7 separate regions of the Homo sapiens genome follow, and all the other regions are linked to region 2. The links are contacts of gene promoters, found by promoter capture Hi-C in blood cells and fetal thymus (Javierre and others, 2016). All regions are on one chromosome and are shown on one strand. Each heading gives the region's core, a stretch centred on a gene start or on the middle of the fragment in contact. The rest is flanking DNA. Distances are from core to core; before and after follow the strand shown.

The links. The method cuts DNA at HindIII sites, captures the fragments that hold promoters and counts their contacts. A CHiCAGO score of 5 or more calls a contact.
Region 1: a contact is called between a fragment that was not itself captured here and the fragment with the promoter of GABARAPL1 in region 2, in 3 of 17 cell types (naive CD8 T cells, total CD8 T cells and M0 macrophages). The highest score is 9.0, in naive CD8 T cells.
Region 3: a fragment that was not itself captured here is called in contact with the fragment with the promoter of GABARAPL1 in region 2 in 1 of 17 cell types (neutrophils); the score reaches 5.1 in neutrophils.
Region 4: a fragment that was not itself captured here is called in contact with the fragment with the promoter of GABARAPL1 in region 2 in 2 of 17 cell types (naive CD8 T cells and total CD8 T cells); the score reaches 9.2 in naive CD8 T cells.
Region 5: a fragment that was not itself captured here is called in contact with the fragment with the promoter of GABARAPL1 in region 2 in 2 of 17 cell types (total CD8 T cells and naive CD8 T cells); the score reaches 12.7 in total CD8 T cells.
Region 6: a fragment that was not itself captured here is called in contact with the fragment with the promoter of GABARAPL1 in region 2 in 2 of 17 cell types (total CD8 T cells and naive CD8 T cells); the score reaches 7.8 in total CD8 T cells.
Region 7: a contact is called between a fragment that was not itself captured here and the fragment with the promoter of GABARAPL1 in region 2, in 1 of 17 cell types (neutrophils). The highest score is 7.2, in neutrophils.

Annotation. Positions count from the first base shown.
Region 1 is chr12:10,703,854-10,707,580 of GRCh38, reverse strand. YBX3 (Y-box binding protein 3) reads left to right here. Exons shown (of 10, transcript NM_003651.5): 7 at 3,433-3,530. Among named protein-coding and RNA genes, the nearest start is that of YBX3, 18 kb to the left of the region's middle. The HindIII fragment of the contact is 9,991 bases long and covers 1-3,727 here.
Region 2 is chr12:10,209,781-10,214,143 of GRCh38, reverse strand. GABARAPL1 (GABA type A receptor associated protein like 1) reads right to left here and starts at 1,267. Exons shown (of 4, transcript NM_031412.4): 1 at 925-1,267. The coding sequence starts at 1,014. GABARAPL1-AS1 (GABARAPL1 antisense RNA 1) reads left to right here. Exons shown (of 3, transcript NR_170310.1): 2 at 1-90; 3 at 182-495. RefSeq lists a silencer at 1,135-1,394 and an enhancer at 1,488-2,030. The HindIII fragment of the contact is 15,130 bases long and covers 1-4,363 here.
Region 3 is chr12:9,719,858-9,723,618 of GRCh38, reverse strand. CLECL1 (C-type lectin like 1) reads left to right here. Exons shown (of 2, transcript NM_001441815.1): 2 at 806-1,127. The coding sequence ends at 993. Among named protein-coding and RNA genes, the nearest start is that of CLECL1, 11 kb to the left of the region's middle. RefSeq lists a silencer at 3,486-3,575. The HindIII fragment of the contact is 1,435 bases long and covers 707-2,141 here.
Region 4 is chr12:10,662,983-10,666,965 of GRCh38, reverse strand. All of the region lies in intron 1 of STYK1 (serine/threonine/tyrosine kinase 1), which reads left to right. Among named protein-coding and RNA genes, the nearest start is that of STYK1, 9.1 kb to the left of the region's middle. The HindIII fragment of the contact is 6,775 bases long and covers 1-3,983 here.
Region 5 is chr12:10,682,588-10,686,942 of GRCh38, reverse strand. No RefSeq gene overlaps it. Among named protein-coding and RNA genes, the nearest start is that of STYK1, 11 kb to the right of the region's middle. The HindIII fragment of the contact is 5,756 bases long and covers 1-4,294 here.
Region 6 is chr12:10,644,579-10,648,418 of GRCh38, reverse strand. All of the region lies in intron 1 of STYK1 (serine/threonine/tyrosine kinase 1), which reads left to right. Among named protein-coding and RNA genes, the nearest start is that of STYK1, 28 kb to the left of the region's middle. The HindIII fragment of the contact is 3,412 bases long and covers 103-3,514 here.
Region 7 is chr12:9,738,738-9,742,972 of GRCh38, reverse strand. No RefSeq gene overlaps it. Among named protein-coding and RNA genes, the nearest start is that of CLECL1, 7.8 kb to the right of the region's middle. RefSeq lists a cis regulatory region at 2,282-2,534. The HindIII fragment of the contact is 2,182 bases long and covers 374-2,555 here.

The DNA of each region.
Region 1 (3,727 bases), core at 275-2,774, 490 kb before region 2:
AGAACAGCTGCTATAATCTTTTCAGTAGAGAAATGAACATGGGTTGTATTAGAGAAGCTGGCAGTGGAAGGTCTGATTAAATGGTTAGATTTGGAAAATGTTTTAAGCATATAGAGGTGTTGGCATTTCATGATGGATTGAGTGAAGAGTATGAGGAATGGTAATATATTGTATGAGGAGTAAATAATACCTCTGCAGTTTTGATTTAAACAAATACGGGAATACTGAAGAAAGATTGGGTTTGGAGGGAAAGGTGAAAATTCTTTGGAGGTCTTTTTCTCATATTAAATTCACGTACAAGTGGAGGTGTTAAGTAGGCAGAAGAAATAAAGCAGAGGGAAGAGGTAGAAAGTGGCTGGAGGATGGAAGGTGTAGTCTTAGATACAGTGGTTGACAACATTTTTGGGAGTTCATTAAGTTGTATTTGAGAAGAGACCTAAATGGAGCAAGGGATCAAGTCCATCAGGTCCCAGGAAAGGCGTGAATGGGAGTCTGAAGGGGAGAAATGGAACTGCAAATAATTATTTGGAATTATTTATTTATTTATTTATTTATTTATTTTTTGAGATGGAGTCTCACTCTGTCACCCAGGCTGGAGTGCAGTGACACGATCTCGGCTCACTGCAAGCTCCATCTCCTGGGTTCATGCCATTCTCCTGCCTCAGCCTCCTGAGTAGCTGGGACTACAGGCACCCGCCACCACGCCTGGCTAATTTTTTGTATTTTTAGTAGAAACGAGGTTTCACTGTGTTAGCCAGGATGGTCTCAATCTCCTGACTTTGTGATCCACCTGCCTTGGCCTCCCAAAGTGCTGGGATTACAGGCGTGAGCCACCGCTCCTGGCTGATTTGGAGTTATAAAACAGGATGTTTAAAGCCGTAGGGGCAGGATGATATTAACTATAAAGTGAGTGTAGGTGGAAATAGGGTCCTAGGATCAAGTTCTGGGACACACCAACGATTAAAGATTAGGAAGATGAGGATTGTCTAGCAAAGGACAGTGAGAAGGAGCAGCCAAGGAGAATGTATTTCAAGAAAGAAATGTGTTAAATGCTTGTTGATAAGTAGAGATTAAGCTGAGAATTGATTATTAGATTTGGTAACTTGGAGGTCAGTGGTTTGGTGAAGACAAAAGTTTAAATAGAATGAACTTAAGAAACAGCAAAGGGCGGGAAGAGGAGACATATTCCCCATTGAGGTTTCTGTAGTGGTGGTCATGGTGTTTGGTTTTTCTTTAGTATGTATGTCTGTAAAGAAATGGGGTAGTAGCTGGAAGAAGATAAGGGATCAGAGCAAGATTTTTGCTTGATTTGATTTGCTTTTTACAATGCAGAGTTACCCCTGGTCTCTCCCTTACCCGTTACCTCACCAACAACTTCTAAAGCCATTAAATGGGCAGATCAAGGTAGGCACGTGTGTTTGCCATAAACCCACATATATATATACACACATACATAGACACACATATATGTGTAACATTGTGTGTGTGTGTTCCATGGTTCTGTCTACTGAAAGGTCCTGAAAGCCGTGATATCTTAGTAACAGCATTGAGCATACCTGTCCCCCAATTTTTTGTTTTTAAATAACATTCTCAAACAAAAAGAATTCCCTTTGGAGAAATGGCTGATTTCAGAGCTGGGACAGAGAAAGTATAATATGAGCCTGGAACATCTTGTTGTGCCAGAAAGCGAAGAAGTACTCAAAGAATGTTGGAAACACATCAATAGGATATGAGCCAGCTTGAAGGGGTTCCCATTGGCCAGTAATGATAGTAACAGATTACAACTCATTGAAAAAAATAGAAAACCATGAGTCCATACAAATATAAATAAATAAACCAATATATTGAAAAATTTGATAACGAATAGTATATTTATGCACTTTGTAAGTACTTCCTCACAAAGTACTCATTAATTACAAAGAAGGAAAGAGTCAACTTACAGTGGAGGACTCTGGTGGCAGATACCACCTTAACCACTTATCAAAGTGAACATTATCAGTAATGGCACAAATTGAAACTATATGCCACCTGACAGGATGCAGTGAGGAGAATGCAGTGTCACTTTTGTGACATCCCCCTGGGGATGCAAAAACAATATCTAATCATTAGTGAACACCAATAACCCAAGTTGAGGGATATTTTACAAAATAACTGGTTTGTAATCTTTAAAGAAGTATCAGGGTCATGAAAACCAACGTGGTGGCTCATGCCTGTAATCCCAGCACTTTGGAAGTCTGAGGTGGGTAGATCACGAGGTCAAGAGATTGAGACCATCCTGGCCAACATGATGAAACCCCGTCTGTACTAAAAATACAAAACATTAGCTGGGAGTGGTGGCACATGCCTGTAGTCCCAGCTACTTGCGAGGCTGAGGCAGGAGAATCGCTTGAACCAGGGAGGCAGAGGTTGCAGTGAGCTGAGATCGCGCCACTGCACTCCAGCCTGGCGACAGAGTGAGACTCCATCTCAAATAAATAAATTAAAAAAAACTGCTCCAAACAAAAAGATATAACTTACTTTAGTGCATAATTCTAAACGGTGTTTTTGCTATAAAGGGCATCATTGGGATAAATGGTGAAACTTGAATGGGATCTGAGAATTACATTTAACTTTTCTGTAACTTTGTGCTTATTTCAAAATTTTAAAAAATTGAAAAGGATGGGTGCTATTTCACTGGGTATATATGCTTGGATGGAAATGATAGAAAAGGTGAAAACATAGTGAAGGGATAGCGTTAACATGCTGTGTCTAGTTGATGAGAATAGAGAGGCTGTTGGTTTCAGATATGAACTTGGACCACTTACCCAGGGTAATGGGAGAGAAGAAAATTCTAATGTAAATACAGGGAGCTGGGTAGATTTGCTAATGAGAACGTGGAAATTGTCTTCTGACTGTTTCTCTTTCTTGATGAAATAATGAAGGACAGTATTTGGCTCTTAGGGGGAGGAAGGGATGTTTTGAGAAAAGAAAAGAAAGTTGAGTTATGGCTGTATGGTCAAGAATTGCAGACATTGTTGGTGGGTTTTTTTGTTTTTTTAAGTTGTTCTTTCTTTCCCCTGGAAGTTGTACAATAAGTTAATTTTATTCCACTGGCTTAAAGTAAGTTTGTTGTAAAGAAAAATAAAAGAGTATTTTATTTAAAGAGATGAATGAAATGTATCCGATTTCAAAATGTTAAATTGATAGGCGAAAATAAAGTTAGGTGCTCTGGGACTAAGCAAATGAGTATTCTAGTCAGACTAGGTTTGTCTTCCTTTTCAGTCGTTCACGAAGATTTACTCATAAATAGTTTGTGTTGCAACTGAGAGTGCCTAATTTTGTAATGAAGCATTTTGTTTTTTACTTCTAAAAAAAATTCTGAACATAGCTGTATGCACTGTATCTTATCCCCTGTGCTGTGACACTCACTGTCAGCTCTCATTGCCTCTCCAGGCTGGTGAGATTGGAGAGATGAAGGATGGAGTCCCAGAGGGAGCACAACTTCAGGGACCGGTTCATCGAAATCCAACTTACCGCCCAAGGTACCGTAGGTATGTCGCATTTTCCACTAATGGCCAGTTAAAGGACTTGTGTGCACAATGGTAGAATGAGGACTGTGTGGTTCCGTTTTGTGGATTTATTATATATCTAGAAGATGTGAATGCTTTGACTACATGCCAGAGTTTTCAGGTGGTGGTGTGACATTTCCCACCTACTTAATACTAGAATTTTTAGTTATCTCTGCGCC
Region 2 (4,363 bases), core at 18-2,517:
CCAAAATCCAACAGCTGCTGGTCCCCCTACCACTTAAGCCATATTCTGCCCTCCAATTCGGCTGCGCAGCCTGCATTAGAGAAACACCAGGCAAGTGGGCGGGGGAGGGGGTAATGGGGAAAACGCCCGGATGCTGAAAGATACCTAATACTTTTCTGTTCCTACTCACTGCCTGCGGTAGTTTTAACTACTTAAGCCGGTGTCCAAAACGGAGAAAAAACGTCTCAGTCCTGCCTTATCGCGACCAGGTACCAGGTGATCAGAAATCAACACGAGGAGGCTGGCTGTCCCCACACAAGCCCCGGAGCCTAGAACGATGAGGCAAGAGGGCTGTTGGGCAGAGAACGTGACCTTGTTTTCCAGGCCAGGACTGTCTTGTGCTCCCCTAACCCCCTGTAATGCAAGAAAATTACTGAATAGCTTCTGAACCTTTTCGTCCCAAGACCAATGATATGAGAGCCAAAGTCAACTTCATTAAAGGAGAACCAGCCAAGGCAGAAATCGACTGGGTTTGCGCAAACCTCACCGCACAGCACAATGTCCCTGCGTTCTTAAAGGCAGCCAATCCATGGCCCCGATCTAACCAGTCTCGCCCACAGGGGCCCTATTTTGTGCACCGCAACCCACACACGGTCTCAGCTGCTGAGACCGTGTGTGGGTTGCTGAGTCACTGAAGACGGCGGCTCGGCCCCCAAAACGCCGTCAGCCCTGAAGTGGGGTTCGGGGCCCAGGCATACGGGGTTTTAAAAGCTCTACAGTCTGGACGTCCATTGGCTCTGGCACTGAAGGGCGTTCAGGATTAAGTAATTCTCGGAACCTCCCTTCTCCAGAGCCGCCTGGGCGCCCCAGGGAAGCCATCTCGACTACCCGCCCCCGCCCCCGCGGGCCCTTCCCCTCCCATCCCCTCCGCTCCTCTACACTCACGGGGACCCTGTCCGGATATTTCTTCCGGATCTTTTCTCCTTCCTTTTTCCGATACTCAAAGGGATGGTCCTCCTTGTACTGGAACTTCATGATGCACCGCAGGGCTTCCGAGATCCCCGCGCGGGGCCTGCCTCCTTCGCCGCTGACCCTGTCCCGCTCCCTCAGCCGACGTCAAGGTGTGCTCAGAATAGCTGCAGAAACGTCCGCTCCGGGGGCAACAGCGCTGGGCCGAGTGTGCAGGGGGGGTTCGGGGCGGGGATCTCGGGTGAGCCTGCCTGGAGGTAGAGGAGAGCCAGATGGAGAAATACCGGCGGCTTTTCGCTAGAGCTGGGAGCACAAAAACAGCTGGGTGGCGCGTCGGGCTGTGACGTCACCCCGCGAGCCCCGCCCCGCCCCCCATGCGCCAGGCGCCCAGGGCAGGGGGTGGCCGAGCGCTCTGTCTCACTGCGTTTCCTTTCTGGCTAACCTTTTTCACAATCGATGTCACTGCAAACATCAAAACATTCGAGTTATGTTTTATTTTGTGACTGTGAAATTAAAGATGGTTTTAAGACAAAAAAAAGATTTAAACATGTTTTATTCCCCCTCCACTGTTTTTCTTGGTTGGGCCCCAAAACAAATACAAAAGGCGAAAATCCAGCCTTTTCCTGCTGGTTGGGATCCAGCCTCAGGAGAAAAGAGGGCCAGGCCTCCTGGGATCCCTTTGGCCAATGCAGAGCTGTCCCGTGCTTGCACCGTGCCCTCTGCGCGTTCCGCTGCCCCTCCCGCGGCCCTCCTCCCGCGCTGGCGTCACAGTGTTTGGGCGGTGCCGCAGTTCGCTCCTGAACAGCAACATAAACAGAGCGTGACTCAGGAATCTGAAGAGAGGAGTCAGATGAAGGACACGGAGTGTAATCAAAGTCTAAAGGAGACATGATGTCAGTAAGGACTACCGAGGGCTTCACGTACAATCAAATATAGAAATGATTCACTTTCTAGCCGGGCGCGGTGGCTCACGCCTGTAATCCCAGGAGGCCGAGGCGGGCGGATCACCTGAGGTCAGGAGTTCGAGACCAGCCTGACCAACATGGAGAAACCCTGTCTCTACTAAAAATACAAAATTAGCTGGGCGTGGTGGCGCATGGCTGTAATCCCAGCTACTCTGGAGGCTGAGGCAGGAGAACCGCTCTAACCCGGGAGGCGGAGGTTGCGGCGAGCGGAGATCACGGCGTCGCACTCCAGCCTGGGCAACAAGAGCGAAACACCGTCTTACAGAAAAAGAAAGGAAGGGAGGGAGGGAGGGATTCACTTTCTGCCATAAACTCAGAAAGGGGGCTCGTCTTCTGGAAAAGAGAGTATCAAGCAATTTAGGTGATGACCTCAGTTGTTCCCCCACATCTTATTTAGTTCCAGTGGTTAGGTATCCCTCACGTGACTAGAAAGCGCTGCCTGGAATGCTAGTAGAAGATTGGGCATTAGGGCAGGTGAGGCGAAGCCTCGTTCTGGATTTCCCCACCTAGAGTCAAAGAAGAAAGACCTTCCAACCAGTACTGTAGGGCAGCGACAGGGAGGACTGTGGAGTTTGCAAAGAAAAAGAACAGTGAAAAGGGGCTGCGTTGCCCATACAAGTCGGGTGAGTTCTGATAAATATTAGATAACAGCAGCCCCGTGGCCTATCTTCTTCAGTCGGGGTCTCAGTGTCTCTAATTTTAAAAACACCCACAGGGGGCCAGGCGCGGTGGCTCACGTCTGTTCTCCCAGCACTTTGGGAGGCCCAGGCCGAGGATCGCTTGAGCTCAGGAGTTCAAGACCAGCCTGGGTAACATGGCAAAACCCTGTCTCTACAGAAAAAACAAAAATTAACAAGGCATGGTGGCGCGCTCCTACAGTCTCAGCTACTGTGGAGGCTAAGGCAGGAGAATCGCTTGAATCCGGGAGGCAGTGGCTGCAGTGAGCTGAGATCGCCCACTGTACTCCAGCCTGGGAGAGAGAGCAAGACTCTGTCTCAAAAAGAATAAATAAATAAAAATAGGCCGGGCGCGTTGGCTCATGCTTGTAATCCCAGCACTTTGGGAGGCCAAGGTGGGTGGATCACGAGGTCAAGAGATAGAGACCATCCTGGCCAACATGAGACGAGTGAAACCCCGTCTCTACTAATAATACAGAAAAAATTAGCTGAGCCTGGTGGCGCTCGCCTGTAGTCCCCAGCTACTCGAGAGCCTGAGGCAGGAGAATCACTTGAACCCGGAAGGGAGAACCCGGGAGGGTTTAACTATATTTGCATCAAAACTAAAATGAGGCCGGGCGCAGTGGCTCACGACTGTAATCCCAGCACTTTGGGAGGCGGAGGTGGGTGGATCACGAGGTCAGGAGATCGAGACCATCCTGGCTAGCACGTGAAACCCCGCCTCTACTAAAAATACAAAAAAATTAGCCGGGCGTGGTAGCGGGAGCTTGCAGTGAGCCAAGATCGTGTCACTGCATTCCAGCCTGGGCGACAGAGCTAGACTCTGTCTAAAAAAAAAAAAAAAAACCTAACATGAGCGACTGAAAATTAAACTGTTTTCAATTTGAAAGTAAGACTTAAAATTATAAACATATAATGTGATAAAATAACTCATGGATTTTATTTATTTTATTTATTTATTTGATATGGAGTTTCTCTCTTGTCGCCCAGGCTGGAGTGCAATGGCTCCATCTAGGCTCTCTGCAACCTCTGCCTCCTGGATTCAAGCAATTTTCTCCGGCCTCGTCCTCCTGAGTAGCTGGGATTACAAGGCGCCCGCCACCGCGCCCAGCTAATTTTTTTGTATTTTTAGTAGAGACGAGGTTTTGCCATGCTGCCAGGCTGGTCTCGAACTCCTGACCTCAGGTGATTCGCCCGTCTCGGCCTCCCAAAGTGCTAGGGTTACAGGTACTAGCCACCGCGCCCTGCCCTCATGAATTTTTATACATAAAGATTGAAAGATGCCATGAAGAAAAATACATGAAGAAGTGGGACTATGTGATTCGTTTTCTGGTGCCAGTAATGAAACTTAGTTTCTTTAATTTTGTGGGTGAGTTTTGTATTTATTTTTATTTATTTATTTATTTTTGAGACAGAATCTCACTCTTTCGCCAGGCTGGAGTGTAGGGGCGCAATCTCGGCTGACTAAAACCTCCTCCTCCCGGATTCAAGGGATTCTCCTGCCTCAGCCTCCCGAATAGCTGGGACTATGGGCGCCTGCCACCGCTCCCGGCTAATTTTTGTATTTTTAGTAGAGACGGGGTTTCACCATGTTGGCCAGGATGGTCTCGAACTCCTGACCTCAAGTGATCCACCTTCCTCGGCCTCCCAAAGTGCTGGGATTACAGATGTAATCCGGCCTATGAAAGTAAATTTTAAATTAACACAATCGAGTAAAACATTTCAAAATGTCTTATTTAACCAAAATCAAAATACTACATTAAAAAGCTCACA
Region 3 (3,761 bases), core at 175-2,674, 490 kb after region 2:
TTTACTCACTCTACATGGGACTACAATTGGCCTAAGGCTAACAATTGTAAAAATGATAAACTTTTGCCCTGCCATACCTTCTTTGAAGTGTCATCTCCCCTCTAGAATCTGTCTGGCTTTGTTCACTCTTCAATGGCTTCAGGTCATGTGTGTGCGTGCGTGTGTGTGTGTGTGTGTCTGTCTGTCTCTGTGTGTAAAGAATATTTATTTACAGGAATACTAAATTATTGGTATATCTAGAATACCCTGTATCATCATCTAAATTTGCTGGGAAATATTATAAATTAGAACTAGCTGTTAAGAGCACATTTTTAGATGTCAAGATCGTTTTGTGTGATAATAGAGATGAACCTATTTGATTTTGGGGGACTGCCTATAGCACAAATTTTGCTTGTGAATAACTATACTAGTGTGATATAAACTCCCAACATTTCTGATGTGTTAGTAGACAACTAATTAAAATTTCTAATTTCTATTCTTCCTTTAAAGTTTTTAGTTCCTTGAAGCTTGGATGTTCATTGTTTTATCCTAGTGTCTGGTGCATTTCCTGGCTTATAGAAAACATGATATATTTTTAAAAGGATAAATTAAATGGAAAAAGGATGGATGAGTGAATGAATTAATGAATATACACATGACTTCAATTCTTTTAATTTTTTTTCAAATGTACCCTGGAACAAAGCACATACTTTTTTCAAAGAAAGCTTAGCACATAATATAACCAAATTTGAGACCCTTCAATTAGTATACATTATTAGGATACAGTTTTACATTGATTTTAATTGCTTATCTTCCTTTCTTCCAGTTTCTTTCAACTTTTCTACTGTCCATAAATCATGTCCTGCCAAAGACTGGAAGGTGCATAAGGGAAAATGTTACTGGATTGCTGAAACTAAGAAATCTTGGAACAAAAGTCAAAATGACTGTGCCATAAACAATTCATATCTCATGGTGATTCAAGACATTACTGCTATGGTGAGATTTAACATTTAGAGGTGACAGCATCCCCCACACTGGCAGTGAATTTTTTGTGCTACAAACTTGGCAAAAGTCTGTGAAAAGAAGTTTCAACTTCATGTGTTATTAACTATACAAATATTAGTTGAATGAATTGTTGAATTACATGATTACCTTTGAGGTTTTTTTTTTTTCCGGCTAGGAGGAGGGGAAATTCATTTTATGTTTTATACCAAGCTCTTCTCTCCAAGGGACCATTGCTTCTTAGCAGATTTCATTTTAAAACTTAAGAAATTGAGTATATGATCTCAGCACACATGTTTATTGCAATGCTCATAAAGGCTGTAGCCAGGTATCACAGCAGCTGAAATTAAGGAAGATTTTGTGAGAAAGGGAAGGCAGAACAGTATCTCTTACTTAGATTTAGTATTTCCAGAGGATAGCTAACATTTAGCTAACTCTGCCTTAATTTAAATTGAAGTTTTGCTGAATGGAGGTTGGACACTATTTTAAACCTTCTCAGTGATAAGGTCAATGTACATGTTAAATTACAAATATTAAATAAGGGTTCTCATGGGGCTCAGTATGTTAGAATCACAAGCTATGTCAGTAGCTCAGTTTCTGCAAACCCTGTGGCTAGCAGTGCTTTACAAACCTGGTTGAACATGCGCCATCTGAAAGAACTTAGAAAAGGGCAGCTGTTGAGACATCTGAGGGAAAAAGTCCCTCTTGAGTGTCACAGAAATCCACACCAAGAAAAACTAAAAGAGAAGTAAACTATTAATATCTTCAGTGAAACTAGTGTTACCCCAAATGTCAAACTGTAAGGCTCTGTCAGGCGCAGCAAACTATGAGCCAAATCAAGGATGGAATTAGGAATTGATAAGAGACCTTTGTTTGTTCTTCTAGAGCAAATTTTAATGAACAAGAAAGAGGAAGCAGGGAGTAACTAAAAAGCATCTAAAAAGAGTGTTGTCTAAAGAATCAACAATAAATAATAGCTTGGAGCCATTGCGCAATGAATGACTTCACTAAGAATCTCATATATCTCCTGCTCACAGTCAAAGGGAAAAATGTGAAAATGCAGAAAAACATGTCTCTCAGCAAACAGTAAACCAGATTTAGGAGAACGGTGATCTAAGACAACACATTTTAACGGAAACTTACTTCCTCCAGTTTAAGCTTTACCTCTTCACATCATTCCTAAGTAAATATATGAGTCAGACACAATTGTTCCCTTTCAAGAATAAACAAGACTCTAAAAGGAATTAGTGTATGATTTATGCATAAGCATGTCCCTTTCTAAACATCTCCCAAAAAAGAAAAGTAAAAAACAGATAAAATATGTTACAGAAGAACATTTACTCCAATAAATATAAAATCATTTTCTAGCGATTATTCTCAAGTTCTCAAGTAAGTTAAAGTTAAAATGGAAAAAAAAAAGGATTATTAGTCCATCTAGGGTATCCAAGTGTCATCATATGGCAAATAAAATAAGAAGTATGAAGGAAAAAGGAGAAGGAGGGCAGAGGGGCAGGGAAAGAGGCATAAAAAGAAGTAAGGGAGATGTGTGGCTTTCATTTCCATGTTGCAGATATCTCAAAGAAATGCTGCTACCCCTTCTATAATGGAAAATAGCCAAATTAACTTCTCAACATTTTCAAATCCATTGAAGAATGAACTCTGTAGAACAACCAGCTGGCCAAAATCTATGGTGACAGGCACATGCGAGAGAGAGGAAACACATCCTTGCTTATTTAGGATAGACAAATCCAACACCAGATACCAGTAAGAATTCAGCCAGGATAATTGAAAGATGGATTAGGGATAAGTGTAGGGTGGCAGAACAGTGTGAAGCTCCTGGGGTCTGCAGAAATTAGAAAATCCCACCACCTCTCCCAGGCTATTTCTCTACAAACTCCACCAGACTCTCACAGAAATGACTGGAGAGAAGCAGAAATTCTTCATGTCCATTGTGATGCAGACCTGGAGAGAGAAAACAGTGATAATACAGAGGTGGCGGCTGGGCGCGGTGGCTCACACCTGTAATCCCAGCACTTGGGGGGCCAACGTGGTCAGATGACCTGAGGTCGGGAGTTCGAGACCAGCCTGACCAACATGGAGAAACCCCGTCTCTACTAAAAAATACAAAATTAGCCGGGTGTGGTGGTGATGCCTGTAATCCCAGCTACTCGGGAGGCTAAGGCAGGAGAATCGCTTGAACCTGGGAGGCGGAGGTTGCAGTGAGCCATAATCGCAGCCACCGCACTCCAGCCTGGGCAACAAGAGCGAAACTCCATCTCAAAAAAAAAAAAAAAAATACAGAGGTGGCATGAAATTCCACAGAGTACCTTCTCCCCTATCTGCTATCTACACAATAAACTAAAAGACCTACTGTGTGTGCTGGGGAGAAGGGCAACAAACATCTCTGCCCTTAGGGAACTGGGGGAACATCGTTGCAGGTGGGAGAAAGTGCCAAGACACAAAATCTGCTCCTGTAAGAGGGGCAGGAATACACACTGGACCAACGACTATATCCAGGGTAGGGGCAGAGACCTGAGCAGGCCAGGCACTAACATTACAGGCACTCACTCAGTGCCTAAGACTGAGTCATAGTGAGAACAGCCATCACCCCTTCCACTCACTGCCTTGCACTACCAAGATAACATTTTCAGAAAAGGAGTAAAAGAGAATGCTGCTGGAAGAGAGACAGAAGAGAAATAAGAATGTGCCAAGTAATCTTCTCCAAGGCACTGTGAAAATGGAAACTAAAATGCCCAGGATGAAGAAGACATTTTTCTGGC
Region 4 (3,983 bases), core at 1,347-3,846, 450 kb before region 2:
GTGGTTATAGAAAAATCTCAGTAATACACATGTGTACTAGTCCTTTCTCACACTGCTATAAAGAACTGCCCAAGACTGGGTAATTTATAAGGAAAAGAGGTTTAATTGACTTATAGTTCCTCTGCCTTATAAGTTTCCTCAAGAAACTTATAACCATGGCAGAAGAGGAAGCAGGCACGTCTTACATGGTGGAGGTGAGAGAAAGCATGTGAAGGAAGCAAAGGGGGAAGAGCCCCTTATAAAACCATCAGATCTCGTGAGAACTTATTCCTATCACGAGAACAGCATGGTGGAAACCGCCCCCATGATCCAATCACCTCCCACCCGGTCCCTCCCTCGACATGGGGGGATTACGGGGATTACAATTTGAGATGAGATCTGGGTGGGAACACAGAGCCAAATCATATCAACATGTAATATCCACATATGAAGTCAGGTGCCTTTCTGGAAAAAGCCTTGAAATGATTGGTTTTAGTTGTACACTCAGACATTGAATGATTTAACCAGATGTACTGTGTTGTGGGAGATGAATGCAGGGTTTGTGTTGGACAACTTTAGGAGACAGTATTATGTTATATTCATATTATGCTACCAAATAAGTGGTGAAAAATATTTGCCAAAGGTGCTAATTTGGTGTTTAGAGAAGTTGATCTCAAGTGCTTATTTTTTCTGACAATAGTCAGCTATCAGGACCAATTGTATGTCAAGTCACCCCTAGTTTGTGTCAGTGAAAAAAGGCTTAAAATCAACTTCTCCAAAGTCTCTGTTAAGTCAGATCAGGCTGGCTTCACTTAGACAGGAAAAGCTCCTGGTTGACCCTCACCTACATGCTCTTTGACACCTCTTCAGCCTGGGCCCAAATTTAGTACCACTTCTGGCCAGTAAGAAGCTATAACAGCAAGAAAGGACTTGTTTAGTGGTAGAATTAACAGGTTTGGCTTAAGGAAGGAGGAGAGAGGCAAACGGAATGCTGAAAATTGATCCTGACTTCCCTGTGGTGAGATTTATTCTATAAGACTTATTCGCAGATTCCACAAATCCAGCCCATCTGATGTGAAACCACATGGCTTCCCTGACTCCTACTTCTGTGGTCTTTCCTCACAGGGCTCAAGGCCTGGCTCCTTTAACTTACCTTGGGGCTGATATCTTAGTATAAGTCAGAGTGAGTTCTGGCTGAGGAAGAAAAAAGAAGCAGAGTATTAATTAGAATATTCTTAAAGCTCCATCAATGAAAACACAGCTGGGATATAAATATTGTAGCCTTCATGTATCTGGTAGAGATTGGCAGAGGCTAGTCTGGACACATGTGCATCCCAAAGTTCCAGAAGAAACTGTGACAGTGTATGCACATTGTGAATTGCAAGGGCCAGGATCTTCTTCCTGGTTCTCATCCCTACAAAACTCAACTGAAAAAAATAGATGGAATATCCAGTCAGCCTTATGAAGGGTGGGAAAGTGTAGTGGGAAGAGCATCAGATGGAGATTCAACACACAATGCTTAGCTGCTAATTAACTGCTGGGAGGTGTCTGAACTCTGTGCCTTAATTCCCCCACCAGTAAATTTGGAAGTTAGGTTTTTGTTGTTGCTTTCAAAGCACCCTTGTACACATAGGGCATTCTACGGCATTTGTGAAGCATGCTCTGCATTTCATAGTGTATTTGTCAAAGAGATCAAGAAATAGACAGCAGGGTTGCTGTTCTTACATTTTTTGTTTCTGTAACAGGGAGGTGTGATCATAGTGGTACAGAAGGCATGGGATGGTTACCTCATTTACAGCGTGTGAACGGCATGGCTTTCTGACACTGAGAGTTGAACCTGCTGTGTTTGCGTTCTTTCTTGAAGCCCAAGCAGCTCCCATAACCCCAAGTGACCTTGATTTCACTCTCTGTCTCTTTTCCTCACCCATATTTCATACTTAGGGACAGTCTAATTAATGGATTCATGATTGGAAGGTCCCACATCTGATTAGATCTCTGATTCATTTTCTGACTTATGCATGTCACCTTTTCACTTAAACTTGGTTTCCACATGCAATATGAAGTTGGTAAAATAGCCATGAATTATTATGAAATGATTTCCTATTACAAAAATGGGGATAATTTGGAAAAATATTCCAGTTTTGCAGCATTAGAAAAAAAGGAGTGTAGGTAAACCTAATGTGATTTATAACTACAATTATAATCTCCCCTCCCACACCAAAATCATTTTTCTAAGTCTGCTTTTTTGGGGGCTAACATTAAAACAAATTATTCTTAATTTGCTGAGTTAACATTTACTAGGAAATAGAGACAGGCTCACTTGAACTAAGGTCATAAAAGTATGACCTTAGGATATCTACAAACAGACGGACAATAAAGATTTGGCAGTATCAGCAAGACATAACTAGTGACAGGTTGTGGGTTTATAAATATTCAGATAGTGTGTGAGATCGATTGCTCACAAAAAGAAGTTCATTGATCCTTGGCATAGAACTCTCTGTTCTGTGCTAGATGTACTAGCATCTTTACACCTGAGTTTAGGGTTTAGAGGTGATATTGGGGGCTGCATCTTTGTGGACTTTTACTAGAATCTCAGTCAGACATATTTTGGGTGCCTAGGGAGCAGTGGTCTCTGTAGGAGGATGGATAAATAGAAGTATTTATATTAATAGGAAGTTAGGGATGTGAATTCTTTGGACACACTCTCTTGTCCCTGCAATTCATGACAACCTGAGAAATTTAGATCATCCCTTGTGGTCTGTCAGGGGAAAATGAGCTGGGTTCTGACACCAAGACAACTACAGAACGTAGTGCCCTATATTCTGTCTACTTATCCAGGTATGAGAAGGATCAACAGTGGCCTTATATTACACCATGCTGCTTCACATAGAATGCATTTCTGGCTAGTCTCTGGGACTGGGAGGCATTTGTTGCCCGACCTGTTCTAGGACAGATTCTTTCGGAGACAGAACATTCTGTGGTCTCACCAAATCACACACAAATTCTGGTTTAACCTTTAAAGGCCATGGAACTATAAAGTTTATTATCAACAAATGTTACTTGTACACCAAAAACTACAAAACATCCCAAGTATCCTTGAAAGAAGCTAAAGAAGACCTAAATGAATGGAAAGACATATAGTTTTCTTAACTGGGATGACTTAATATTGTTAAGATAGTGGTACGCCCCAAATTGATCTACATCCTTAACATAATCCCTATCAAAATTCCAGCCTTTTTTTTTTTCCGAAATGGTCAAAGTGATTCTAAAATTTATGAGAACGCAAGGGAGTCAGAATAGCCAAAACAGTCTTGAAAAAGAACAAAGTTGGAGGAATCACACTTAATGATTTTTTTTTTTTTTTTTTTTTTTTTTTTTTTTTTTTTTTGAGACAGAGTCTCGTTCTGTCGCCCAGGCTGGAGTGCAGTGGCGCCATCTCGGCTCACTGCAAGCTCCGCCTCCCAGGTTCACGCCATTCTCCTTCCTCAGCCTCCCGAGTAGCTGGGACTACAGGCGCCTGTCACCGCGCCTGGCTAATTTTTTGTATTTTTAGTAGAGACGGGTTTCACTGTGGTCTCGATCTCCCGACCTCATGATCCTCCCGCCTCAGCCTCCCAAAGTGCTGGGATAACAGGCGTGAGCCACCGCGCCTGTAAGTTTTAATGATTTTAAAACTTACTACAAATCTACAGTAGTCAAGATTGTGTGGGCTGGGTGCTGTGGCACGTGTCTATAATCCCAGCTACTTGGGAGGCTGAGGCAGGGGGATCCCTTGAGTCCAGAGCTTGAGGCTGCAATGAGCTCTGATCACACCATTGCACTCCAGCCTGGGTCACAAAGTGAGACATTATCTCTAGTAATAATAAGGCTGAAAAGACTATCTTTAATCATAATAAAGAGCAGAAAAAGATTGTCTTTAACAAATTATGCTGGGACAATTGGATATTCACGTGCAAAAGAATGAAGTTGGACATTTACCTCTAATTCAAAATGAACCAAAGTCC
Region 5 (4,355 bases), core at 167-2,666, 470 kb before region 2:
GGTGAAGGATATGTTGTTGCATCTGGCCCCTGACAGAGGCACAGTGCCTAGTAGATCTCTTTGGATTTTGAAGGAACATATTGCTTATTTGGGTGTGTTACTCTGGCCCATTTACAAGTGAACTGAAAAGTTGCGGGTTTTGAGTGTGGCCCAGAACAAGGCAAGGCTCTGCAACAGGTCCAGGCTGCTGTGCAAGCTGCTCTGGTACTTGGGCCATATGGAGCTTGAAGTATCAGTGGCAGATAAGGATGCTGTTTGGAGCCTTTGGCAGGTTCCCTTAGGTGAATCATAGGACAAGTCTTTAGGATTTTGGAGCAAGGCCCTGCCCCATCATCCACAAATAACTACTATTCTTATGATAAACAACTCTTGGTGTGCTACTGGGCCTAGTAGAGACTGACTACTTAATTACGGGTCACTAATTTAACTGGACCTGAGCCACCCACCATGAACTGGGTGTTATCTGGCTCCCCAAACCATAAAATTGGGTATGCCAGCACTACTCCATCATCAAATGGAAGTGGTATATACATGATCAGGCCTGAGCAGGCCTAAAGGCACAGGTAGGTTACATGAAAAGTGGCCCAAATGCCCACTCCAGCTATACTGCCTTCTCTCTCCCAGCCTACACTTACAGCCTCACTGGGAGCTCCCTGTGATCAATGGTCAGAGGAAGAGAAGACTTAGGTCTGGTTTACAGATGATTCTGCACTATATGCAGGCACTACCTGAAATTAGACAGCTGCAGCCCTAAAGCCCCACTATGGAACATCCCTGAAGGACAGTGGTAAAGGGAAATCCCCCAATGGGCTGAACTTTGAGAAGTGCACCTGATTGTTTACTTTGCTTGTAACAGAAAATGGCTAAACATGTGGTTATATACTGATTTATGGGCTGTGGCCAATGGTTTCACTGGATGCTCAGGGATTTGGCAGGAACACGACTGAAAAATTGGTGGCAAAAAATGTTTGTAGAAGAGCTATATGTATAGACCTCTCCTGTGTCCCATGTGAATACTGACCTTAGCAGGGGAAAATCCTGACTCCTAAGGCAAAATGGGACAACTGCTTTGCAATGGAAATAAGGAAGAAAACATGTCTGGAATACAGGAGATCCTTTAGGGCATCTCTTAGATTACATGCTCTGTGTTTAAGGTCAATGAAACTATAACAACCCAGCCTAGGGAGGAGGACTAAGGGAGCAGATCCTTCAGAAATGAAGGTTTTGGTCACATCGCCTGATAAAGAATCATGACCAGCTGAGGTGTTGCTAAAAGCAAAGGGAACATGGAATAGGCAGTGAAAGACGGTATTACAAATACCAGCTACAACCACGTGACCGCTTACAGAAATAAGGACTGTAATCATCATGAGTACTTCCTCCTTATTTTGCCATGAATACATTTGTGTTTGTGTGCATCTTTGTTTTCTTTCCTCTCTTACTCCCTTATCATGTAGCATAAGATATATTCATTGTATAGCCATAGTGTTTAAGTACAGTTGTTCCTTGGTATCCATGGAGGATTGCTTCCAGGACCTCCTGCTGATACCAAAATTCACAGATGCTCAAGTCCCTTATATAAAGTGGTATAGTATTTGCATATGACCTATGTACATCATCCCATATACTTTAAATCATCTCTAGGTTACTTATAACACCTAATACTATGTAAATGCTATATAAACAATTGGTATCCCCTATTGTTTAGGGAGTAATGACAGGGAAAAGGTCTGTACATGTTCAGTAAAGATGCAATCATCCATTGTTTAATGAATACTTTCAATCTGCAATTGGTTGAATCTGTGGATTTGAAACTCACATATATAGAGGATTGATATTTATTTTATATCATAATATTTAAGTCAAGGGATGTCAAGGAGAAGAGTACACACTGCTCAAGGACTTTACCTCCTTTTTTGGGAAAAGGGTAATTGCCAATTTTTGTTTTATGCAGGGTAATTGTATCATGTTAGGTGGAATTAGGACATTGTTGTTTTCTTTATTTGGAGATTAAAGTATGGTTTAGAAGATGTGTATGGGTGCCAAGTTGGCACGGTGTAGACTTGAGATGGTTAATTTTATATGTCAGCTTGACTGGCGACAGGGCGCCCAGATTAAACATTATTTCTGAATGTGTTTGTGAGAGTGTTTTGGAAGAGGTTAGCATTTGATCGTGTGAACTCAGTAAGGTAGATTGCCCTCCTCAGTGTGTGTGGGCATCATCTAATTCACCGAGGGACTGAACAGAGCAAAAGGCAGAGGAAGGAGGAATTTGCCCCATTTTCCCTGCCTCACTGTTTGAACTGGGGCATCTCATCTCATCTTCTCTGGCCTGGGACTGGAATTTATACCATAGGGTCCTCTGAGTCTCAGACCTCCAAACTTGGACTGAATTATACCCCTGGCTTTCCCAGGTCTCCATCTCACAGATGACAGATTGTGGGACTTGCCAGCCTCCATAATCATGTGAGCCGATTCCTCATAATACCCCCACTTCTTTCTCTCTCCACGGATAGATCGATTGATAGATAGATCTTTTAATTATTTGTTCCAATTTTTTAAAAAATTTAAAAAAGGAAACACACCCCAATAGACATTTTAATATATAATCTCCATATATGTATGACTACACTCATAGCACATGTTATAAAGCACACAAAAAATAAAGATCAAATATTTTCAGAAGATGTTTGTTAATGTAACAAACTTCTTCATACTCAGATATTTTAATAATAATGTGATTTAAAATGTTTCATTATTTATAAAAAGGTATTGTCTTAATACTTTGTGATATGTGTTTTGAAAATCTGTTTCTTTGCTCAGTTTGATATGGTATTTGATTTCAATGACTGTAACAGCTGAAAAAAAAATTCTGGTCCAAATAGAAAAAAAAGCACTTATACATGTATAAAATATATACATACACACACAGATACACACACATACATATATACACGTATGTGTGTATATACATATTACATGTATATATGTGTATATATACACACATGTAATATATACACACATATAAGAGCTAGTTACATATATGTGTGTAATATCCATATATACATACATACGTGTATATATATGTGTGTATATATGTGTATGTGTGTACATACTATTATGTACACTTACACGTATTTTTTGTATACACATATGCAAAAATCATTTATTATTATATATATATACACATATATAAATACACATACACATATACGCACATCCCATTGCCCAATTATTTAAATGTTTTTGTTAAAATGTCCATAGAACATTTCCATCTACCCTGGTATAAATCAGTTTCTGTAAACTAGAAATTTTTACATAAAAATTGCTTTCAGAATAAATGGGAAGTAGTCATTTTAAGTATAATATTTAAAGAGGTTAGAAATTTCTTTTAAATTTTATAAGTATGTAAATATGAGAGAATTCATAAATGACTAATTTATTTCAGCAACCAAAACATTTAAAATTAATGGTAATGGCCGGGCACGGTGGCTGACATCGTGATCCATCCGCCTCAGCAAAAGCAAAATTAGCTGGGTGTGGTGGCGCGCACCTGTAGTCCCAGCTACTCGGGAGGCTGAGGCAGGAGAATTGCTTGAACCCGGGAGGCAGAGGTTGCAGTGAGCCAAGTTTGCACCACTGCACTCCAGCCTGGCAACAGAGCAAGACTCCGTCTCAAAATACATACATACATACATAAATAAATAAATAAATAAATAAATAAATAAATAAATGGTAATATGTTCAAAAACCCATCTTAAAACCCCATAACAGGTGTTCTTTCCAAAAAAGTTTCTTTTTACCCATTGTGAAAACATCATGTTTACCTTGAAGGTGTTTATTTTTACAAAATTGTTTGCAAAATTGTTTGCTGTTTATCAAAGAATAAACAGCAAAGTGGGAAACTTGACTTTGTGTAAAGGGAAAAATGAATAGTATTTTGAATGTGATAACTCTTGAGTATTTTGACAGATGACAGCAGTAAAAACAAGTAATTATAATTATTTCTCCTGTCATTTTTTGGTATTGCTAAGATCATACTATTTATTGGTTTTTATTTTATAAACTAAACCACACTGATATCATCATAGGCTACATTATGTTAAACAGGTACGAAGAAATGCATCTTGCACATTAGCAACCCCTTCATTCACGTATTGCTGTCCTACTCACCAGGATACTAGATGAATATCTCATCTTCCATACATGATACACAACCCTCTGACATACAGACCCAGTGAGGGTGCCACTGTCATTTCATGATATAAAATATTAGTAAATTTTAGTAAAAGCTTATTTTCATATATTTCAAGACAAAAATACAAGCAAATATTTATTTTTTCCTCTGGTTTACA
Region 6 (3,840 bases), core at 559-3,058, 430 kb before region 2:
GTTTTCTCATTACTATAAAAGTACTATGTTTTTATTTGTTTATTGATTGATGTTTCCATTGTGATTTTTTTTTCTGTTGGAAGAAAGTTTTTTGTTTAAGCTTAGGAAGTTATCACAAACCCAATATAATTTATAATGTTAAGTTTTTTATGTCTCTTAAAGCATCTAGCTTTTTTCCCAAAATTTATTTTGTGTACAGGTGAATCAAAAATATAATTTTTGTTATCAAACAAGTAGTCCATTGCCTAAATTCCATTTGATGAATAATCTATCTTAGTACTTCTCAACCCCAGCTGTATGTTAGTATCTCCTGGGAAGCATTTCCTTGATTGAAGCTGATATCTGAAGTCATAATCTATGGGGTTTATAATCATCATAATCTCTAAGAGGAGTGGTGTATTAGTCCGTTTTTATGCTGCTGATAAAGACATACCTGAGACTGGGCAATTTACAAAAGAAAGAGGTTTAATGGACTTACAGTTCTGAGTGGCTGGGGAGGCCTTACAATCATGGCAGAAGACAAGGCAGAGCAAGTCACATCTTATGTGAATGATGGCAGGCAAAGAGAGAGAACTGTCTTGTGCAGGGAAACTCCCCTTTATAAAACCATCAGATCTCGTGAGACTTATTCACTCTCACAAGCACAGGAAAGACCTGCCCCCATGTTTCAATTACCTCCCACTTTGTCCCTCCCACAACACATGGGAATTCAAGATAAGATTTGGGTGGGGACACAGCCAAAACATATCATTTTACTCCTGGCCCTTCCCGAATCTCATGTCTTCACATTTCAAAACCAATATTGCCTTCCCAACCGTCCCCCAAAATCTTAACTCATTTCAGCATTAACTCAAAAGTCCACAGTTCAACATCTCATCTGAGACAAAGCAAGTCACTTCCACCTGTAAGCCTGTAAAATCAAAAGCAAGTTAGTTATTTCTTAGATACAATGGGGATATAGACATTGTGTAAATACAGCTGTTCCACAGGGAGAAATTGGCCAAAACAAAGGGGATACAGGCCCCATACAAGTCTGAAATCCAGCAGACCAGTCAAATCTTAAAGCTCCAAAATGATCTTTGACTCTATGTCTCACATCCAGGTCATGGTGATTCCAGAGGGGGGTTCCCATGGTCTTGGGCAGCTCTGCTGCTGAGGCTTGACAGGGTATAGCCCCACTCCTGGCTGCTTTCATGGGCTGGTGTTGAGTGTCTGCAGCTTTCCCAGGCACATGGTGCAAGCTGTTGGTGGATCTACCATTCTGGGTTTTGGAGGATGGTAACCCTCTTCTCGTAGCTCCACTAGGTGGTGCCCCAATAGGGACATTGTGTGGGGGCTCGACCCCACATTTCCCTTCTGCACTGCCCTAGCAAAGGTTCTCCATGAGGGCCCCGCCCCTGCAGGAAACTTTTGCATAGGCATCTGGGCATTTCCATACAGCCTCTGAAATCTAGGCAGAGGTTCCCAAGCCTTAATTCTTGACTTCTGTGTACCCACAGGCTCAACACCACATGGAAGCTGCCAAGGCTTGGGGCTTTCACTCTCTGAAGCAACAGCCCAAGCTGTACCTTGGCCCTTTTAGTCACAGCTGGAGCAGCTGGGACACAGGGCACCAAGTCCCTAGATTGCACATAGCAGAGGGACCCTGGGCCCAGCCCATGAAACCATTTTATCCTCCTAAACCTCTGGGCCTGTGATCAGAGGGGCTGCCTCAAAGGTCTCTGACATGCCCTGGAGACATTTTCCTCATTGTCTTGGTGATTAACATTTGGCTCCTTGTTACTTATGCAAATTTCTGCAGCTGGCTTGAATTTCTCCTCAGAAAATGGGATTTTCTATTCTATCACATTGTCAGGCTGCAAATTTTCCAAACTTTTGTGCTCTGTTTCCCTTATAAAACTGAATGCCTTTAACAGCACCCAAGTCACCTCTTGAATGCTTTGCTTCTGAGAAATTTCTTTGTCAGATACCCTAAATCATCTCCCTCAAGTTCAAAGTTCTACAGATCTCTAGGGCAGGGGCAAATGCCACCAGTCTGTTTGCTAAAACATAACAAGAGTCACTTTTGCTCTGGTTCCCAACAAGTTTCTCATCTCCATCTGAGACCACTTCAGCCTGGATTTCATTGTTCATATCATTATCGGCCTTTTGGTCAAAGTCATTCAACAAGTCTCTAGGGAATTTCAAACTTTCCCACAGTTTCCTGTCTTCTTCTGAGCCCTCCAAACTGTTCCAACTTCTCCCTGTTACCCAGTTCCAAAATCACTTCCACATTTTTGGCTGTCTTTTCAGTAGCACCCTACTCCTGGTACCAATTTACTGTATTAATCCATTTTCACGCTGCTGATAAAGACATACATGAAACTGGGCAATTTACAAAAGAAAGAGGTTTAATGGACTTACGGTTCCAAGTGACTAGGGAGGCCTCCCAATCATGGTGGAAGGCAAGGAGCAACAAGTCACATCTTACGTGGATGGTGGCAGGCAAAGAGAGAGAACTTGTGCAAGGAAACTCCCCCTTATAAAGCCATCAGATCTTGTGAGACTTATTCATTATCATGAGAACAGCATGGGAAAGACCTGGCCCTATGATTCAATTACCTCCCACTGAGTCCCTCCCACAACATATGGGAATTCAAGATGAGATTTGGGTAGAGACACAGCCAAACCATATCAAGTGGGAAATGAACATCAGGATTGATATTTTTTAAAAATGCCTCCTAGGAGATTCTAATGTGCTCTCTGGTTTGAGAACCACTCATCTGCTTATTTTGATTCTTGCTGACTTCTTTATATTAAAGTCCTAAATATGTGTCTCTTTTTCTGGGATACTTATGTGTTCTATTAATCTATCTCTCTGTTTTTCAGTGTGTGTGGGTGTGTGTGTTTAGGCTTTGTAAAACATTTATGCCTGATACAGGCCTCTCCATACCAAACTTTGCTTTGTTTTTTTTAGAATGAGAGATTACTGCATGTTGGGGTATTACCAGTTCCCTTTCTTATCTTGCTGGAGCCCTAAGTTTCCAAAGAAATCAACTGTGAAATCTCTCTCTGAACTCCTCTTTTCAGTCCTCTCATTCATATAGGTCGCAAAGATCATAGAAGAGCCCCCTAAACACATTTTCTCCACATCCTCACCACCTATTCATTCCCAGAACCACCCTGCTCTCTGGCCACTGCACTATAGCTATTCTTTCTATGATGGGTGACCTCCATGTTGCCTGTATCTGCTACTTATTGTTTTCCTGACCTGTCATCAGATTTTAGCCCAGCTGTTGTCCATGCCCCTCTCCTTTGCTTCCACAACAGCACAAACTCTTGGTTCCCCTTTTACTTCTCTAGTTTTTCCTTCTTAGGCCCTCTTTGAGTTTCCCCCTGGACCCCAATTCCTCTTCCTTCATGTAGCCCTTATCCGTTGGAACTCCATGGATTCTTTCCTAGGCCCTCTTTTCCTCTCTTCTCTTTTTCCTTTTTGTTCATTTTTTCCTCTTTCTCTCTTATTCACTTTCAAGCTTTCAATATTATCTAATGACTCCCAAATATTTATCTCTGGTCCAGACTTCCCTTATGAATCCTAAGAACTGTACAACCAAATGCTTTTTTCTAATATTCTACTTAAAAGTCACACTGGCATCTTAAATCAAAATGTCCAGAACAACTCATCATCTCCTCTTCTTTGATTTCTCCTTCTCCTTCTTACCTTCTACAACCACTGTGTCCTGTTGGTTCAATCTCCTCAAGGTTTCCAATCCATTATTTTTCTTTTTTTTACTGTCACTACTGTAATCCAAAAAATGATTATGAAATTATTAGTTTCACAATTGATATTCTCGTATGTAT
Region 7 (4,235 bases), core at 215-2,714, 470 kb after region 2:
CAGGTTCAGGAGTTACCTGACAAGAACCTAAGCTCTCACCTCTGGCTGACCTCGAAGCTCAGCCTGTGCAGTGTGAATGTACAGGGCTGTAAACAGGTTCAGGAGTTACCTGAGAAGAACCTAAGCTCTCACCTCTGGCTGACCTCGAAGCTCAGCCTGTGCAGGAAGTGAAGGAACAGCACAGCGAACTGCTTGCTGAGGGTCCAGGGTGTGCCCCCAAGTGCACGCAAAGTCTCTCAGCAAAGAATGGGAGAGTGAGAGTTTTCAAACTCATGAATCGGTTTAAAAAGACAGGCAACAACAAATGTTTAAGTGAGAAAAAGACTACAGAAGTGATTTCCCAGAAAAAGGACACCAAAATGGCAAAAAAGCTTATCAAAACACTCAAATTCGTCATCAGAGAAATGAAAAAACTTAAAGGAGTCACTACACACCAACTAGAATATCTAAAATTTTTAAAGAAATAAACAGAAATAAAATCTGAGAATACCAAAGGTTGGTGAGAATTTAGATCAACTGAAATGTTCATAAACCTGAAGGAAGTTCAAATTAATAACCATCTTAATTTGGTCATCTCTACTAAAGCTGCACATCAGCATACTCTGTGAACCAGGAATTCCACTCACTCGTTAATAGAAACAAACATGTATGTGCACCCAAAGACAGGAATCAATATTCATAGCAGTTTTATTCATAATAGCCCTGAATTGGAATCAGATGTCCATCAACTATAAAATAGATAAATGTTGCAGCATCCATACAAGAAGCACTATACCCGTTACACATGCAAAAACACAAACAAATATCAGAAACCTACTGATAAGCAAAGAAGCCAAACATAAATGATCACGAGATTGTGTGATTCCATTTGTATGAAGTTTTTTAAAACCCTAGAATGACAAAGACAAACCAGCCTAACACAAATTGCTGCAAAACCTGAAAATGCTTCTTCACCGCCCATTTCAGTGTGGTTAGACCACTGATTCATCATCTCTGTTTCTTAGTAAAACTAAATGCTTATTTATGTCAATGTAACATCTTATTTCAAGTGGCACTTCCTCTCTGATGCACCTGTGGGCTGCGGTAAAATCTCATGCGTGCTCTGTTGGGGCATTTTTGTTTTGTATATCAATTGTCAGTAAATTACTTACTTATTGACATACTAGAAAATCAGCTCCCTGAAGGGAGGACATCATTTTTAATCTCAACTTCCAGTTTCAGGGAAAGCAATATAGTTTAACCATTGTATTTATAGGCTTTGGTGTCAAGTAATCTGGTTTCAAATTTCTGCTCAACTCCTATCCTTCTGTGTGACTTTGAGTGAAGTACCTTGTTTTCCTCATCAGCACTTAAATGGGATAATAAAGGTGCCTAGCTCCTACAGTTGTGATACCAGAAGACTTAAATGAGCCAATACCTGACACACACAATGTTCTTAGTAAATGTTAGCTTTTAGCTAATCAAATCATCAAACTGTATTTATAAGTTTAGTGTAAATTAAGATTGCTACTTTCATATGAATATTTCCACATAAATTAACACATTCAATATAAATCTTATAAATTTTGTATGAAATTTCATAAAAATTAATCTATTAATACAAATCTAACCCGATGTTTCTCTGAATGGAAACTTTTTGGCATGTATATATCAAGTGGCCTTGAAAACTCATTGATTAATATTCTAAATTAGGTTGCTCTTTAAGAAAACTCAATAAAACATTAAAAGTAATATATCTGATTTTTTTTCTCATAGATGTGAAGTTTTTTTGTTTTAATTCTCAAACTAACAAAGGCTACCTAAAAATTCAATAGGGTACTTTCAGGTACATTTGTAATATTCAACAGATGTATTTGTTTCTGCTTTCTCTAAAGTCTCAGTAAAAATTATATTAATAAAAACATTTAATAGAATAAAAAATGATTGGGAGCAACTAGGCATAGATGAGAAATGTCTACAAAGTTTGGACTATGTTCAGTAACTTAGGCCATAGTTCCCTGGACGCTAAAGCATCAGAGACCCTATGCACCACAGACTCTATGGTGGCTCCCATCATCCCCGTGTTCTGGTCTTCAAGCTCTTGTGTGATCTCCTCTCTTTGAATGTGGATAGGACTTGTGATTTGCCTCTAATCAATACAATACAGCAAAGGTAATGGTATATGCATGATTACATGAATGGAATGGAATGTGCCTAAGATTATAATAACTGTCTGCCAGAGGGGACTCTTTTCATGGCTGGCTTTGAGAAAGCAAGGTGCCATGTCGGGAAAGTCCTTACAGCAAGAAACTGAGGGCTACCTCTGGCTAGTAGCCATCAAGAAACTCAGGCCCTCAGTTGATGGCCCACAAGGAAGTGAATGCTGCCAGCAACCATGTGAGCCTAGAAGCAGATCCTTCCCCAGATGAGCCTCAGAGGAGATGAGAGCCACAGCCAACACCTTCACTGCAGCCTTGTGAGTCTCTGAAGCGTAGCACCTACCCAAGCCATGCCTACACTCCTGGCATACAGAAATTATGAGATAACAAATGTGCATTGTTTTAAACCACAAAGCTTAAGGTAATTTGTTATTTAGCAATAAAAAACTAATACCGTATGGGTTCAATATGGGGGAAAACTGGGGAATTAGTAGAAAATATATACAAGGAGCCCCTTGAACAACCAAACGGCAACCCTGTATGTCTACTGAAGATTGGAAGTTTATTGCCTGGCATTACTGAACCAAAAGGAGCCTGAATTCAGAGTAAGAGTCTCTAGGCAAGGCTAAGGGAGGACGTGCTTTACTAAAGACAGAGGAATTAATTGAAATTCTGAATAACAGACTTGCTTTTGAGAGGTGACAGCGTGCTGGCAGTCGTCACAGCCCTCGCTCGCTCTCGGCGCCTCCTCTGCCGGGGCTCCCACTTTGGTGGCACTTGAGGAGCACTTCAGCCCACCGCTGCACTGTGGGAGCCCCTTGCTGGGCTGGCCAAGGCCGGAGCCGGCTCCCTCAGCTTGCAGGGAGGTGTGGGAGGGAGGGGCGCGGGCGGGAACCGGGGCTGCGCGCGGCGCTTGCGGGCCAGCTGGAGTTCCGGGTAGGCGTGGGCTTGGCGGGCTCCGCACTCGGAGCAGCCGGCAGGCCCTGCCGGCCCGGGGCAATGAGGGGCTTAGCACCCGGGCCAGCGGCTGCGGAGGGTGTACTGGGCCCCCCAGCAGTGCCAGCCCACCGGCGCTGCGCTCGATTTCTCGCCGGGCCTTAGCTGCCTTCCCGCGGGGCAGGGCTCGGGACCTGCAGCCCGCCATGCCTGAGCCTCCCACCCTCTCCGTGGGCTCCTGTGCGGCCGGAGCCTCCCCGATGAGCGCCGCCCCCTGCTTCACGGCGCCCAGTCCCATCGACCACTGAGGACGACTCGCTGAGGAGTGCGGGCGCAGAGCATGGGACTGGCAGGCAGCTCTACCTGCAGCCCCGGTGTGGGATCCACCGGGTGAAGCCAGCTGGGCTCCTGAGTCTGGTGGGGACGTGGAGAACCTTTATGTCTAGCTCAGGGATTGTAAATACACCAATAGGCACTCTGTATCTAGCTCAGGGTTTGTGAATGCACCAATCGACACTCTGTATCTAGCTACTCTGGTGGGGCCTTGGAGAACGTTTGTGTGGACACTCCGTATCTAGCTAATCTGGTGGGGATGTGGAGAACCTTTGTGTCTAGCTCAGGGATTGTAAACGCACCAATCAGCACCCTGTCAAAACAGACCACTGGGCTCTACCAATCAGCAGGATGTGGGTGGGGGCCAGATAAGAGAATAAAAGCAGGCTGCCCAAGCCAGCAGTGGCAGCCCGCTCGGTCACGCTGTGGAAGCTTTGTTCTTCTGTTCTGTGCAATAAATCTTGCTACCGCTCACTCTTTGGGTCCGCACTGCTTATGTGAGCTGTAACACTCACCGCGAACATCTGCAGCTTCACTCCTGAAGCCAGCGAGACCAGGAGCCCACCGGGAGGAACTAACAACTCCAGACGCGCTGCCTTAGGAGCTGTAACACTCACCTTGAGGTTCTGCAGCTTCACTCCTGAGCCAGCGAGACCCCGAACCCACCAGAAGAAAGAAACTCCGAACACATCCGAACGCCAGAAGGAACAAACTCCAGAGGCGCCACCTTAACAGCTGTAACACTCACTGCGAGGGTCCACGGCTTCGTTCTTGAAGTCAGTGAGACCAAGAACCCACCAAGTCCGGACACAGTTTGACATCTCCTAA